Linked DNA regions of Homo sapiens: region 2 is linked to region 1. The links are contacts of gene promoters, found by promoter capture Hi-C in blood cells and fetal thymus (Javierre and others, 2016). All regions are on one chromosome and are shown on one strand. Each heading gives the region's core, a stretch centred on a gene start or on the middle of the fragment in contact. The rest is flanking DNA. Distances are from core to core; before and after follow the strand shown. Region 1 holds the start of PIGM (phosphatidylinositol glycan anchor biosynthesis class M). Region 2 holds the start of CD84-AS1 (CD84 antisense RNA 1).

Region 1 (6,353 bases), core at 758-3,257:
TCCCAAAGTGCTGAGACTACAGGCAAGGGCCACCATACACAGTTTAAGAATATTTTTTGGATTTTCACAGCTGTCAGGAAAGCTTTAGAAAGAAAAGATGGGTGTTAAAAGTTAAGACACAGCTTAAGACAGAAGCATTGTAAAACAGGAACAAATACTGGCTTAAACCTGATGTCTCTAACTATATTCCTCTATTTTAAGAATGTTTTAGTATCTGATAGTTTCATCAGCCTTTCCATTTTCCAATATGTGACCTTTATTCCCACCATGTCCCAAATAAACGAGTCCTAGGATTTCCTAGAAGGTGGACCTCAATTATTGTGTCCCTTTTATATATAAGGCAAACATTGCTTTTAAGTTCTGTTGGAACATGGGAACTTTCACTAGAATGCTTAGAATGTTCAGAAAAAATGTCCCAAAGCTCTCTTCTGGTCCATACAAGACAATCAGAATGTAACACAGTAGCAGAGGGTGTGGAACATACACTAGTCATATTTGATTCTCTCTGTCAGGGGTTCTTCTTTGTAATGGGAAATAATTTGAATCAGGATGGAACAATTGATAAGAAGAAAGAACAAACCAGCTAACCAAATAAACAGAAAGGTGTTCTTTCCTTGAAACTCTAGAACATAGGCAGGAGCCAGCCACATGGCCTGCCCTATAAACCATAACATTAGGAGAACTACAGCTCTTTTCCAAGGCATTCTGACTAGTGGCATCACAAGAGGCAGTAAGCAGAGGTACCAAAGAAAGTACTGGGAGGTGCAGACTTTGTTAAAAGTCACAAAAATGGACGTATGAAGAAAACAACAAAAAACGAGGTCTCTGTAATAGGCGAAAGACACAGCTGAAAGCAAGATGAGCTGTGGCAGGAATGCAGCAATTCCCAGGGAAAAACTCCACTTGCTCTCTGCAGTCAAATACAGCATGTAGAAGTACGGAGAAAAGTTGTGACGGATATCCCGCCTAGTCAGGTGATAAAAGTAGGTGTGTTCCAAAAATTCCCAGCCGTACTCATAGTAAAAACCAAAGCTCAGGGCAAAAAACGTGAGTCCAGCAACTGCTACAAACAGCAGCACAGCCCGATTACACAGCCTTTTCAGGAGCTCGTACAAACAAGCCTGGAAAGTGTACCGGAATTGACGGAGGCTTTTGTCATTGTCGCGATCTGGAAGCAGGTGGAGGGTTATGGGAAGGATGTAAGTCACTGGATATATCTTCATATGCACCGCGAAACCATAGAATACAGCTGCACACGCGACGAGTCTTTTCTTTATCAAGTAGAGGACCATCAGGACCAGGGAGGCGACAATAGAGTCCGCATTACCGCGGCTGGATACTGCCATAGGCAGGGGGTTAAGAAGCCAAAAGACACAGTAGCCACAAGCCTGGCGGCGCCCCAGCCCCTTCAGCAGCAGCAGGCGGTATAAGAGGAAAGCGGTGAGGAGGTCGCAGCTGATGAAGAGAAACTTTCCAAAGAGCTCGCTGAGGTAGATGTTGGGAGTGAGGAGCCAACCCAGCAGCGGGGTGTAACGGTACGTGGCTCTCAGGTAAGGCGAGCGCCCCTCCGTGACGAAGCGCGCGGCGTCGGTGAAGACCTGGTAGTCGATGTCCGTATACCTCACGTGCAGGGTCCGGTCCTGGAAGACGCCATAGAAAACCAGGGCGACTCTGGCTAGAAAGGCCACACCAAAGACGCCGGCTGGAGCCACCTTCAAGTTCAGGAGCCATTCGCCCCAGTGCTTGGTGGAGCCCATGATCTGACCGTGCGACAGCTGCTTAGCCCCAGCTCCAAACTGCCTTCGTACTTCTAACCTTCCCTTCGGTTCTTTGCAGCAGGTGGCCGCCGCATCTCCCACCCGCCAGGCTGCCAACCGAAACGACTGCAGACTATCACATCCGGCATGAAGCCCCGCCCCCGTACTGCTACCTGTCTCCAGCCCCGCGCGGTCTTCTCAGCCGCCCGAGCCAAAAACTTGCCTTCCTCTGGATGGACGGTCTCGCTTCCGCTTCTTCTTCCAGCGGAGGCGGGATTTCCGGTCCGTGGGAGGGGAGACGTCCGCTTGCCGGGAAATCCGGCACTGGCTTGAGGATTTTATGGAGTGGAGTGAGATTTCTTTGTAAGTGACAGCCCGCCGCCCCCCGCCCTCTTCCCGCGCCCCATTTCCAGTCCTCAGAGGAAAACCCTCCGACGAGCAGCGAGCTGCGGGCTGCGCGCTACATCCTTCAGTCCTGGGCTGGAGATCCGAGAGTGAAAAATGTAGGAGTGAAAGGAAGATAAGCCTTCTCATGCTTTACTCCACTAGCTCGCCGGTATTCACCGGGGATTTGTGGGCCCCGGACAGGACAGGATGAGTTGAAGGGGGCTGAGTGTGTATGTTCCATGCAATATTGGAGGCATACTTATATTTTTAAATTACTAGTTGGTAATCAGAGATTCAGATTTAAGTGGGCAGCTTGTATTTTATCCGGCAACCCTAGGTGAAGGTGATGGGAAAGAAGACAGGAAAGCGTCACAAAATTCCTTAACTTGTCAGCCCCTTATGCCTCAGTATCTCTGTATTTGCTATTTCTTCTGTCAAAGTTGCCATCCGCTCTCCAATCACTCTGGCAAATACCTACTCAACCCTTCAGGCATCAGTGCAAGTGTTAGCTCCCAGCTCCCACTCACTTCCTCATCACGCAGAATGAATGACTTAGATGCCAGTCCCCTCCCCTGTCCGAGGATAGGTAGACTGGGGCGGACGGGATCTAAGTTCCAGAAAATCACTCACACAGAAGACCCTGCCATGCTACTAAAAGTTCTCCCAGTGCTCCAGAACTCCCTGGTCATTCCTTTGTTACAGCATTTGTCACACTGCTTTGTAATAACTGTTTTTGTTTGTTTTGCTCTCCTAGTTTTCCATCAGGACACTTTCAATTCTTCGGTATCAGAGATTATCTTGTTCTTTTCTCTACCTCAACATCTAACACAGTACTAGTAGCCATTCAGTAAAGTTGAATTGATTTTAGAGGTTCCTCCTACCAGAATATTTCTAGAGTGGCATCTTTGGATTGCTCCCAACTCCCAGTTATTTTCCCTTTTAAATATCCTTTATGTATGTCAAGGTCCCCTGCTCCCCCCACCCCACTCCAACCCTACTTCCATGAATTTCTTGCCAAGGACTGTAACCCATTAGCTCTTCCCTTTCCGTGGTTACTTAGTGCACTTACATAGTCCGCATTGTAGAATTTGATACTTTATTTTAGATTGTATTCATAGCCCTCACAAGAGATTATAGGGTTCTTGGGGGTAGAAATTATATCTTATCCTTAATTTTTTTCAATTATGTGTAATTTATTGTAGTCTTAGGCACATGGTAAATGCTTAGTAAATACTGACTAATTGGATTTTATAGAATAAGCCTGCTTCCTAGGGGAAGTCTTCTAGACTAGAATAAGGAAAAGGAGGTGACTTCATGCAGTCTGAACATGCAGCTCCCAGAACTACCTGCTGCTCATCCATCCTACACTTCAATTTATCCCTTGGAGATGAACTGTGTTAATCTTATATATTCCATATTCATATTGTGATAGCTCTATGTCCTTTTATATGCCTTGGTATCATTACATGCCTTAGATTGATAATTCTAACCATTTTTTTGCAGTATATTAGCCATATATATAGTGGCAGCACATCACCACTCATATAATGATGATTATGATGATGATGATTACTATTATTTATAATAGCTGGATTTGTTGAGGACTCATTTGCAATGTACCAGGCATTATGCTAAGTACTTTTCATGTAAGGTAGATATTCCCACCTTTACAAATGAAGAAAACCAAGGCTTATGGAGATTAAGTAATTTTCCCAAGTCACATAGCTAACTAGTGACAGTGCTAGAACTCAAAACCCAGTCTGTCTGACCTAGAATATCTTAATCATTATGTGGCTGACTTGCCAATAAAATGTTGATCACAAATTCTAATTTTCCTATGTTTTCTCTTATTGATCTCTCATCTTGATATTCTGGATATTCTCTCTCACTGTGACTCTTTCTACCTCTGATTTATTCTTTTCTTCTGCAAATAATAGATAAGTGAGGCTTAGTTCCCTAAGATAGAAAATATGGGAGGTAGGTGTCTGAGGATTAACTAAGTAAGGGTCCTTGTGGCTGGATTGGTTTCAGTAGTATAGCAGAAAGGTTTCAGTCAATCTGTCCCTACATGGCTGTCCTAGTAGAGAGATGGGAGGCACCAAATTTAGGCAGATAAGGAAACAACTAATAAAAAAATAAAATAAAAAAAAAACTAAGCATGTCACTGAAGTCAAAGGAGTGAGATGTAGATAGCAGTTGTGGGAACGAAGAAGAGACTGGAATCTGTAAAACAAATTGGACAGAGAGGTCCAACTTTAGTTACTATTTCTGGGTGGAAGAGATACATCACAGGGTCCGAGGACCCCATATTGAACTTTTTGCATTGGGTTTAGGGATTGTATTTTCTCACCTCTTTCTGAAAGAGTTACATTTTTTTCAAATGCTCAACTGTTCATTACCTCTCGGACTGTTACTTACAATCCTTCTTAATTCCCCCTTTCACTATCTGCTCCTAGATTTCTATCCTTTTAGAGCCAATGACTAAGGAAAGCACAAACATGGATCGCTCAACTTTAGTTTCCCTAGCAGGAACCTTGTCCTTGTTCACTATGCTGCATATACTCTCATTACCCTTCCATATCCACTATTCATCTTTTTTGCCCTGTTCTGTGTTCCAAGAGGTTAGGCTGTATGGGTAGCATCACTCAATCTCCCTTGTTCTCTGGCTTCCCATTAGAATAGACCAGTGGGAGGCACTAGCAGATCTTTGGCAGTGTCTGGAATTCCTCACCTAAAGCCATGGCTCCTGTTGAAGCTATAGCTCTCTCCTTTGGGTACAAGTCTCATGGTTCCAGTAACTGTCCCTTCAGGTTTAAGGCTGGTAAAGGCGTCCTACTTTGCGAGTGCCTGGGTACATCACCATATCTTGTTGATTTATTAAACTTGCCCATACCTTTGCAAATAGTTTCTTCATTAAAACATGTCCACTGGCCCTTTGAGTATACCATCTGTTTCCTGCTAGAACCTTGACTACTTTAATCACTTTCTTTTTCACTAGATTTTGTTCATATGTCTTGCTTTGTCATTTCTTTGGAATCTATTTCTAATTCTTTCCATGCCCAGCATCCTGCACCTTAGTTCAGACCTTCAACAACTCAAATAATACGTAGCGAACACCTATACTATACTATACCAGGATCTGTGACAATTGCCTTTCCCTCAAGCTTTAAAAATCTCTTAACTGATTTAATGTCTTATGTCTCAATTCTACTACCAGATTGATATTAATTAATAGTACTTTACTTAGATTCTTTCCTCCATCAAACATCTTCAGTGGTTCCTGACTGCCTAAAGAAAAAAATAATGAACACTTTAGCCTGATATTCAGTCCCCCTATTTTCTGGCTTTACCTTAGCTTTCCATCCTATTCACCTATAATGCCTCTGTTTTAGGTTTACTGTTCCCAAAATATGCCTTGTGCTTTCTTCTCATGACACTTTCTTCATGCTGTACTTCCTACAAAGAGACCTGTTTCTCTTTACTTACTTAAATGCTATTTGGTTTTTCAATGTTGAACCCAACTCTCAACTCCTCTTCCTAGACCTTAACAAGTGAAATAGTCTCTCCCTCCTCAAAACAGTGATGTTTATTGTCTGTTCTCTTTTTTAATAGTAATTATGTCATGCTCGTTATCTAACTCTTTTATAGTTATTTAACAAGATATACAAGCTCCACTGCATACTTTAGGCCATTTCTTTCTCTCTTTGCTTTCTTTCCCTCCTGCTAATTTATCAAACATCATACATGTCGGGCACTATATGAGGTGCTGGGCTGTACTCGTGACCAAACACTTGACATGAATCCCATTCATGTGACACTTGAAGTCTAGTAAGCTACACAGACATTAGTCAAATAAATTGACAAATAATATACAAATGCAGCTGTGGTAAGTGCTCTAGCTTTTAAGGGGATTTATTTGATCTCAGATGGGCATAGTGTAAGAGTTAAGAAGGTTGGCCAGGCACAGTGGCTCACGCCTGTAATCCCAGCACTTTGGGAGGCTGAGATGGGTGAATCACCTGAGGTCAGGGGTTCGAGACCAGCCTTACCAATATGGTGAAACCCTGTCTCTACTAAAATTACAAAAGTTAGCCATGCGTGTTGGCGTGTGCCTGGAGTCCCAGCTACTCAGGAGGCTGAGGCAGGAGAGTCGCTTGAACCCGAGAGGTGGAGGTTGCAGTAAGCTGAGATCGTGCCACTGCACTCCAG
Region 2 (6,785 bases), core at 967-3,466, 510 kb after region 1:
ATAGTTTTTATCATGAAAGAATATTGAACTTTGTCAAATGCCTTTTCTGTGTCAATTAAAATGACCAGTTTTTTTCTTTCATTCTGTTAATGCAATATATTACATTGAATGATTTTTGTATGTTGAACTATCCTTGCATTCCAGGAATACATTTCACTGTCATGTTGTATAATCCTTTTAATATGCTGCTGAATTTTGTTTGCTACTTATTTTGTAAGAATTTTTATATAAATATTTATAAGGAATATTGGTTTGTAGTTTTGTTTACTTTTAGTGTCTTTGTTTGGCTTTCGTATCAGGGTAGTGCTGGTGTCACAGAGTGAATTAGGAAGTGGTCTCTTCTTGTTAAGGACTGAGTGTTTATGCCTCTACAAAATGTATATATTGAAGCTCTAACCCCCAATGTGATGATATTTGGAGATGGGGACTTTGAGAGATAATTAGGTTTGGATGAGGTCATGTGAGTGGGACCCTCATGATGAGATAAGCATACTGATAAGAAAGGAGAGACTAAAGTTCTTGCTCTCTCTCTACCACATGAGGGCGTATTGAGAAGTTGGCCACCTACAAGCCAGGGAGAGTTTCACCAGCAATTGAATCAGCTGGCACCTTGATCTTGGACATCGAAGCCTTCAGAACTGTGAGAAATAAATTTCAATTGTTTAAGCTACCAAGTCTGTGGTATTTTGTCATGGAAGACAGAGTGAATTAATATATTTATCTTCAATGTTTAGAAGAGTTTAAGAAGGATTAGTGTAAAATCTTTTAAAACTCTTTGGTGACCAGTGAAGCCTTCTGATCCAGGACTTCTCCTTGTTGGGAAGTTGTTTTAAAATTATTTACTTAATATTCTTAGTAGTTATAGGTCTAATCAGATTTTCTATTTCTTCATGATTCAGTCTTTGTAAAAATTGTGTCTACTTCATCTATGTTATCCAATTTGTTTGTAGTAGTCTCTTCTATTCATTTCTGAAAAATTGGTTGTAGTGTCCTCATTTTCATTTCCAATTTTAGTAATTTGAGCACTCTGTCTTTTTTTCCATAACCACTCTAACTAAATTTGCCAATTTCGTTGATCCTTTTAAGTAATCAACTTTTTGGTTCATTAATTTTCTCTATTTTATCTCTGGTCTAATCTTTATTATTTTCTTTATTTTGATAGCTTTGGGTTCATAGTAGTGGCACTTTCCCACTTGAGATCTGAATTAAGTGAAATAGAGACCAGTTCTTCATGGACTCCTAAGACAGATTAGAATATTGCAAATAAGATCTGTTATGTTCCCTCCCATTCAAGAGAGGGAACTGAGAAGTGAACTCCTGCCTCCTCTAAACAAGCTTTCTGTTGGGATGAGGAGGGGATGGGGCAAGGGCAAGAAAAATGCCATGGAACTTTTCCTACCATTTCAAAAGTGGCTTTTTCTTCATTGGGCATTTGATTGGTTGTTATAAAACTCTGACTGTTTTCCAGAGTCCCTATAAGGTTAATTCAACCATTTGGGTTTTTTTTTGTTTGTTTGGCTGTTTTTTTATTACTCTAAGTTGGGGGAAAGAGAGAGTTTGGAATTTCCTAGTCCACCACTTTGCTGACATCACTCTCTCTATCTCTATACTTTTACACTGATTTTTAAAAAGATGATAGAAATGTGTTCACATATTTCTTAAGTAACTAAAAATTAGTGACATTATCCAAGATCTTGGTGGATAAATAATATTCTCTCTGAAGAACCAATGCCCCTTAGAAAAATGACTGATTCTAGATGTGAGATAGCCTCTTATATGTATTTCTTGACTCACTTTACTAACAAGGATCTTCAATACAATACAGTTGAAGAGTAGCAGTGATCTTGTATTCACTGAATACAAGAATGGTTACTTGTATTCATTTCTTTATTAAGAATGCCTCTAATGTTTCCAATAAATGTTTGCTACATATGCTGTATCAAGTTGTAAAAGTTTAACCCGAGCCAGTCATTTGCTTATTTGCTCTCAGCTCTATTCCCACCCTTCTGTGTTCCTTGTTTTTCAGAAGGTTAGAAGTCTGCAAACTACATTTATCATTTCCATTGTCAGATGGCTTCTGATTAGATTTTGTCACTGGGTGGTATTGGTTAAAGTTGGATGGAAGGAATAAATTATATATTTTTCCATAATCTTGGTTTCTGGTAATGTTTTCAGTAGTGGCAGTGATAGCAGAAGATGAGTACCGCTTCAGGGTTCCTGGTGTAGCAGTGCAGTTCCAGCAAGCATGTCAGAAGTCTTGCTAGTGTGGTACTGGTGGGATCAGGCTTTGATGGTGGCATCTGCAGTGGTGAGTTATTTTTGTCTCCCAGAGTCTCACAGTTTTGATGAGACTGTGAACTCTTAGAATCTTGAAAGCTGGCAGCACTGATTCCCAAGACAAATTTCCATAGGGACAAAGTTCCATAGCAACTTCCTGGAATTATTAATTGCTTGGTAACCTCAGCTTCCCTGTTTTACTCCTCCATCACTTTTGGAATCAATTCCCTATATTCAGCTTGTTGAGTTTTCAGTATTTAACATGGTCTCAGTTTTTTAAAATTGGATATTGACTAAAACACATTCTATTTTTAGCTTTCTTGAAAACTTTTTAAATCAGTCATGGGTATTCAGTTTTATCAAATATATATTGTAGACTATGTCAGGATGATTATTTTTTTCATCTCCTTTAATCTGTTTGAACAGCAAATTACAATAGATGGTTTCTTAAAGATAAATCATCCTGGCACTCTAAGGATAAAATCCTACTTGGTCGCATTTTTTTTTCTTTTAATGCATTGCTTTAAAATTGACTGAAGTTTAAGATTTTTAACATTTATATTTATAAGTGAGATTGGACTATATCAGGATGTGGCAGACTTTTTCTGTAAAGGTCCCAGTAGTGAATATTGGACTTTGTGGACCATACAATCTCCTTTGCAACTACTCAACTCTGCTGGTGTAGTATGGAAGCAGCCATAATAAACACATAAAAGAATGCGTGTTGGCTGTGTTTCAATAAAACTTTATTTATGGATGCTGAAATTTGAATTTCACATAATTTTAACATGTCCCAAAATATTATTATTCTTTGAATTCTTTTCAACCATTTTAAAAATGTAAACTATTCTTAGTTCGTGGGTCAAATAAAAACAGATGGCAGACTGGATGTGGCCACACGCCATAGTTTGCTAACTCCTGGCCTATGTATCTCTTTGTGGGGGATCATCCTTATCTGGCTTTGGAATCAGTGTTATATTATAGTATTTAATGAATTTGGAAGCTTCCCACTGTTTTCTATGCCTTGGGACAGTTAAGATGACTGGGAATTATCCTTTCATTGTAGGTGATAGGACTAGCCCTTAAGACCATCTAGGCTGGTACACTTTTGGCAATTAGACCACTGAATATCTTTCCATTTTTTTTCAGGTTAAAGAATTTCTTCTAATTATAAACTAACTTTCTCTCTCTCTTTCTTTCTTTCCTTTCCTTTTCTTTTTTTTTTCTTTCTTTTCTTTCTTTTGAGAAAGAGTCTTGCTCTGTTGCCCAGGCTGGAGTGCAGTGGCACCATCTCAGCTCACTGCAACCTCTGCCTCCCGGGTTCAAGCAATTCTCGTGCCTCAGCCTTCCAAGTAGCTGGGACTACAGGTGTGTGCCACCACACCCGGCTTTTTTTTTTTTTTGTTTTTGTACTTTTAGTAGAGACGGGGTTTCACCATGTTGACCAGGCTGGTCTTGAACTCCTGGCCTCAAGTAATCCACCCACCTCAGCCTCCCAATACAGGCGTGAGCCACTGTGCCAGGGCTTAATTATAAATTTTCAACTTATAAGTTATTACATATACAAAGCCTTATACCACAGCAATCCATTGGTCCTTTCTGCCACCAGATGACATTAGCATGGCCAATATAACCATTATTTGTGTTTTGGAAAGATCACTCTGGTTGTGGTGTAGAGAATGGATTGGACTGGGAGCAGGCACGACTGCAAGAGGTCAAGTGCTATTGTCTGGGTAAGAGATGATGGCAACCTGGACTACTGTAGTTAGTGGTGAAAGAGAGGTAGATAGATTGTAGTGACATTCAGGAGTTGTGTTGGGGTTTTCAAGACCACCCCCAGATTCAGTCATTCAGTAGGAGGACTCACAAGACTCAGCATATAGCCATAGTCATGGCCGATTTATTACAGTGAATAAACACAAAGAAAATCAGCAAAGGCAAAAGGGCAAAGTCCAGAGGAAACCAGGTGCAAGCTTCTAGAGTCCTCTCATAGTGGAGTCAAACAGGATGTATGTAATTCCTTCAACAACATGTTGTGTCATGTTTGAAATGTAATCTACCAAAGAAGCTCGATGGAGCCTAGGCATTTAGGGTTTTTCTCTGCAGGCAGTAACGTAGGCACCCTCTACCTAGCATGCACCAAAATTCCAGAATCCAAGAAAGAAAGCAGATATTCAGCAAAAAACAAATTGTTGTGCCAACAATTTAGGTACAGTGTAAGTACCTTATCAGGGAATTCTTATCAGGGAATGGTAGGAACCGTCCCAAAGTCCAAGTTCTCAGACACCAGCCAAGGGCCAACCTTATAAGCATGCCCTTCAAAGGACAGCAGTTTTAGCCCTGCTGTGTTAACTCTTCTGTGTCTCCTGCATAGCAGGTAAAATCAATATTTTCTAGTGCATTTCCAACCAAGGGTTTTATAGAATCTATGAAGGTAATATACTTCAGAAATAAACAGTATACCTGGCTTTGTCGTTGATACATATGCCAAAGGATTGTAACATGCCAGCTAACACAGTTAAAGGCTGATAAGCTATTGCGTCTTCAATAATTAAAGTATTACAAATTGAGGACTACTTGCACTGGGTCAGGCACTGTGGATACAAATGGTGACAAAACCACGCATGATCTGTGTCCTGATGGAACTCACAGTCCAGTGACGGAAGAGAGGAATTAATAAAATAATCACAGGGAGAAATATTTAAAGACAAAATTGAAAACTGCTGTAAAGGCAAGAGGTGTTGTACTATGAGCGCAAAACACGGGCATCAGATATGGCCTGGAGGAACAGGGAAAACTTCCCCCCAGGAAGGGACGCTTGAGCTTATCCCAGAAGAATGAATGGGCATTGTGTGAATGAGTGAAGCTGTGTATTGGAGGTAGTGAGGGTAAGGAGGTGGAGGTAATTTCAAGCTGAAAGTCCTATGGCTAATGTGTAGATGAAATGAAATGAAATGTGCCAAACCTCAGAAAGCACTGGAGAAACACTAGCGAAATTTATCTTCTCAAACGGTTGCTGTATCTGCCTACAGAGTTTCTACACAGGGACTCCGAAATTCTACATGGGTAGCAGTCAATTTCAACCCCACAAGAAGATGTAGGTGGGGAGCTGGAAGACCAGGCTTATCTGCAAACGCTGGCTCAGAACAGAGCAGCTGTGGCCTCTGATAAGCAGGGAATAGAGGAAGTGGTTTTGTCTCAGGCCTAAAAACCATTTGCTATCTCACAGCGCCTGTTAGTAAGTCACCTCCCCTTCAGTGTTTACCAAACATTCAGAGGCCCTGCACCTACAGTTCTGTGGAAACCACAACCTCATTCTCCTCAGTTAAAAGCCCAGTCTTTTTATCCCTTTCCTCCAAGTGGCACTATGGGTGACACAGAGAATTTCTACTCTCCAATTTGGGACTCGGACTCTGAATGTGGTTTCCAGGACTCTCTTTCCTCTTCTGATATGTGGGTGCCAATCCAAATTCAGTTCAACAAATACTTACTAAGCTCTGCTAGGCATTGGCTCCTGTGATAGGGCACTGTGAGTGAAAAATGAATAAGACAAAGCTTCTTCCCTGGAGGGAGATGACCCCCAAAACGTGATTTAAGTCCTCAATTTCCTCTCTCTAGGTTGACCAAGGCAGAACTCTCTTCTCCACCTTAACCAAGCACCTCTGCTGCCCTCCGGGTTTTTTCTGTTTCTGGCATTTGTCCTTCCTGTCTCTAGCTTCTCAGTCTCCTCTCAAGGTCCCAATCATCTCTCTACATCAGCTTTTCTTTTTTTCTTTGTCTGTCTTATACCCTCAATCCCTTGGTCTCTTGTGTCCACTCAGGGCCTGGGTTTTCAGACAGCACAGGGCTTTTATCATGTGGACTGTCTCCTTTGCTGTTTCATCTGTTTACTTCATTTTTGTTGCTCTCAAAAACCAAAACAAAGTAAAACACAAAATAGATGCATTATAAAATAATATTTATTGTGTCCTGCTGAAATGGAGCTTGTAGTCTCATTTCTTAGGCACTTACAAGGTAAAATTTATGAACCATACTTTATTAATGGGCATTTACAAATGCCTGAAATAAAAGGTGACTTGTAGAAGGGATAATATATCTTATTGCAAACATGACACCTAGCTTCTGGAATACGGTTAGTGGCATTTGCCACTAGTGAGCATAATTTCCATGTTCAAATGAATAATGAACTAATCAAAAAACCTTTTTTTGAGGAACTGAGGCACTCAGACACAAAACACAAAATTAGGCACTCAGACAAAAAGCAACTTATTAGCCAGTTGGAGAGAGAGCTAAGAAATACCATATCTATATAATTATCAGAGAATGTGATAAAAAGCTACTACTCTGTACTTGTGTGCCAAATGCTGTAAAAGTATAAATAGAGGGCAATATATTTCGCTTTGGACGGGAGGTTTTAGAAGGCCGCACAAGAGGGATATTCAGTCTGATGCTTGATGTAGACAGAAGGGAGAGAAGGGCATCCCAGACAACATGGGCAAAGGCATGGG

Evidence for each region. Contacts are between HindIII fragments. The CHiCAGO score rates a contact against its expected background, and 5 or more counts as called.
Region 2: a contact is called between the fragment with the promoter of CD84-AS1 here and the fragment with the promoter of PIGM in region 1, in 9 of 17 cell types (M2 macrophages, monocytes, erythroblasts and 6 more). The highest score is 9.0, in M2 macrophages.

What each region holds. Positions count from the first base shown.
Region 1 is chr1:160,029,983-160,036,335 of GRCh38, forward strand. PIGM (phosphatidylinositol glycan anchor biosynthesis class M) reads right to left here and starts at 2,008. Exons shown (of 1, transcript NM_145167.3): 1 at 1-2,008. The coding sequence starts at 1,757. The coding sequence ends at 486. The HindIII fragment of the contact is 5,226 bases long and covers 81-5,306 here.
Region 2 is chr1:160,534,880-160,541,664 of GRCh38, forward strand. It overlaps CD84-AS1 (CD84 antisense RNA 1), which reads left to right and starts at 2,217. Exons shown (of 2, transcript NR_188634.1): 1 at 2,217-2,308. CD84 (CD84 molecule) reads right to left here. Exons shown (of 7, transcript NM_003874.4): 7 at 6,219-6,785. RefSeq lists enhancers at 5,215-5,304, 5,320-5,614. The HindIII fragment of the contact is 1,945 bases long and covers 1,334-3,278 here.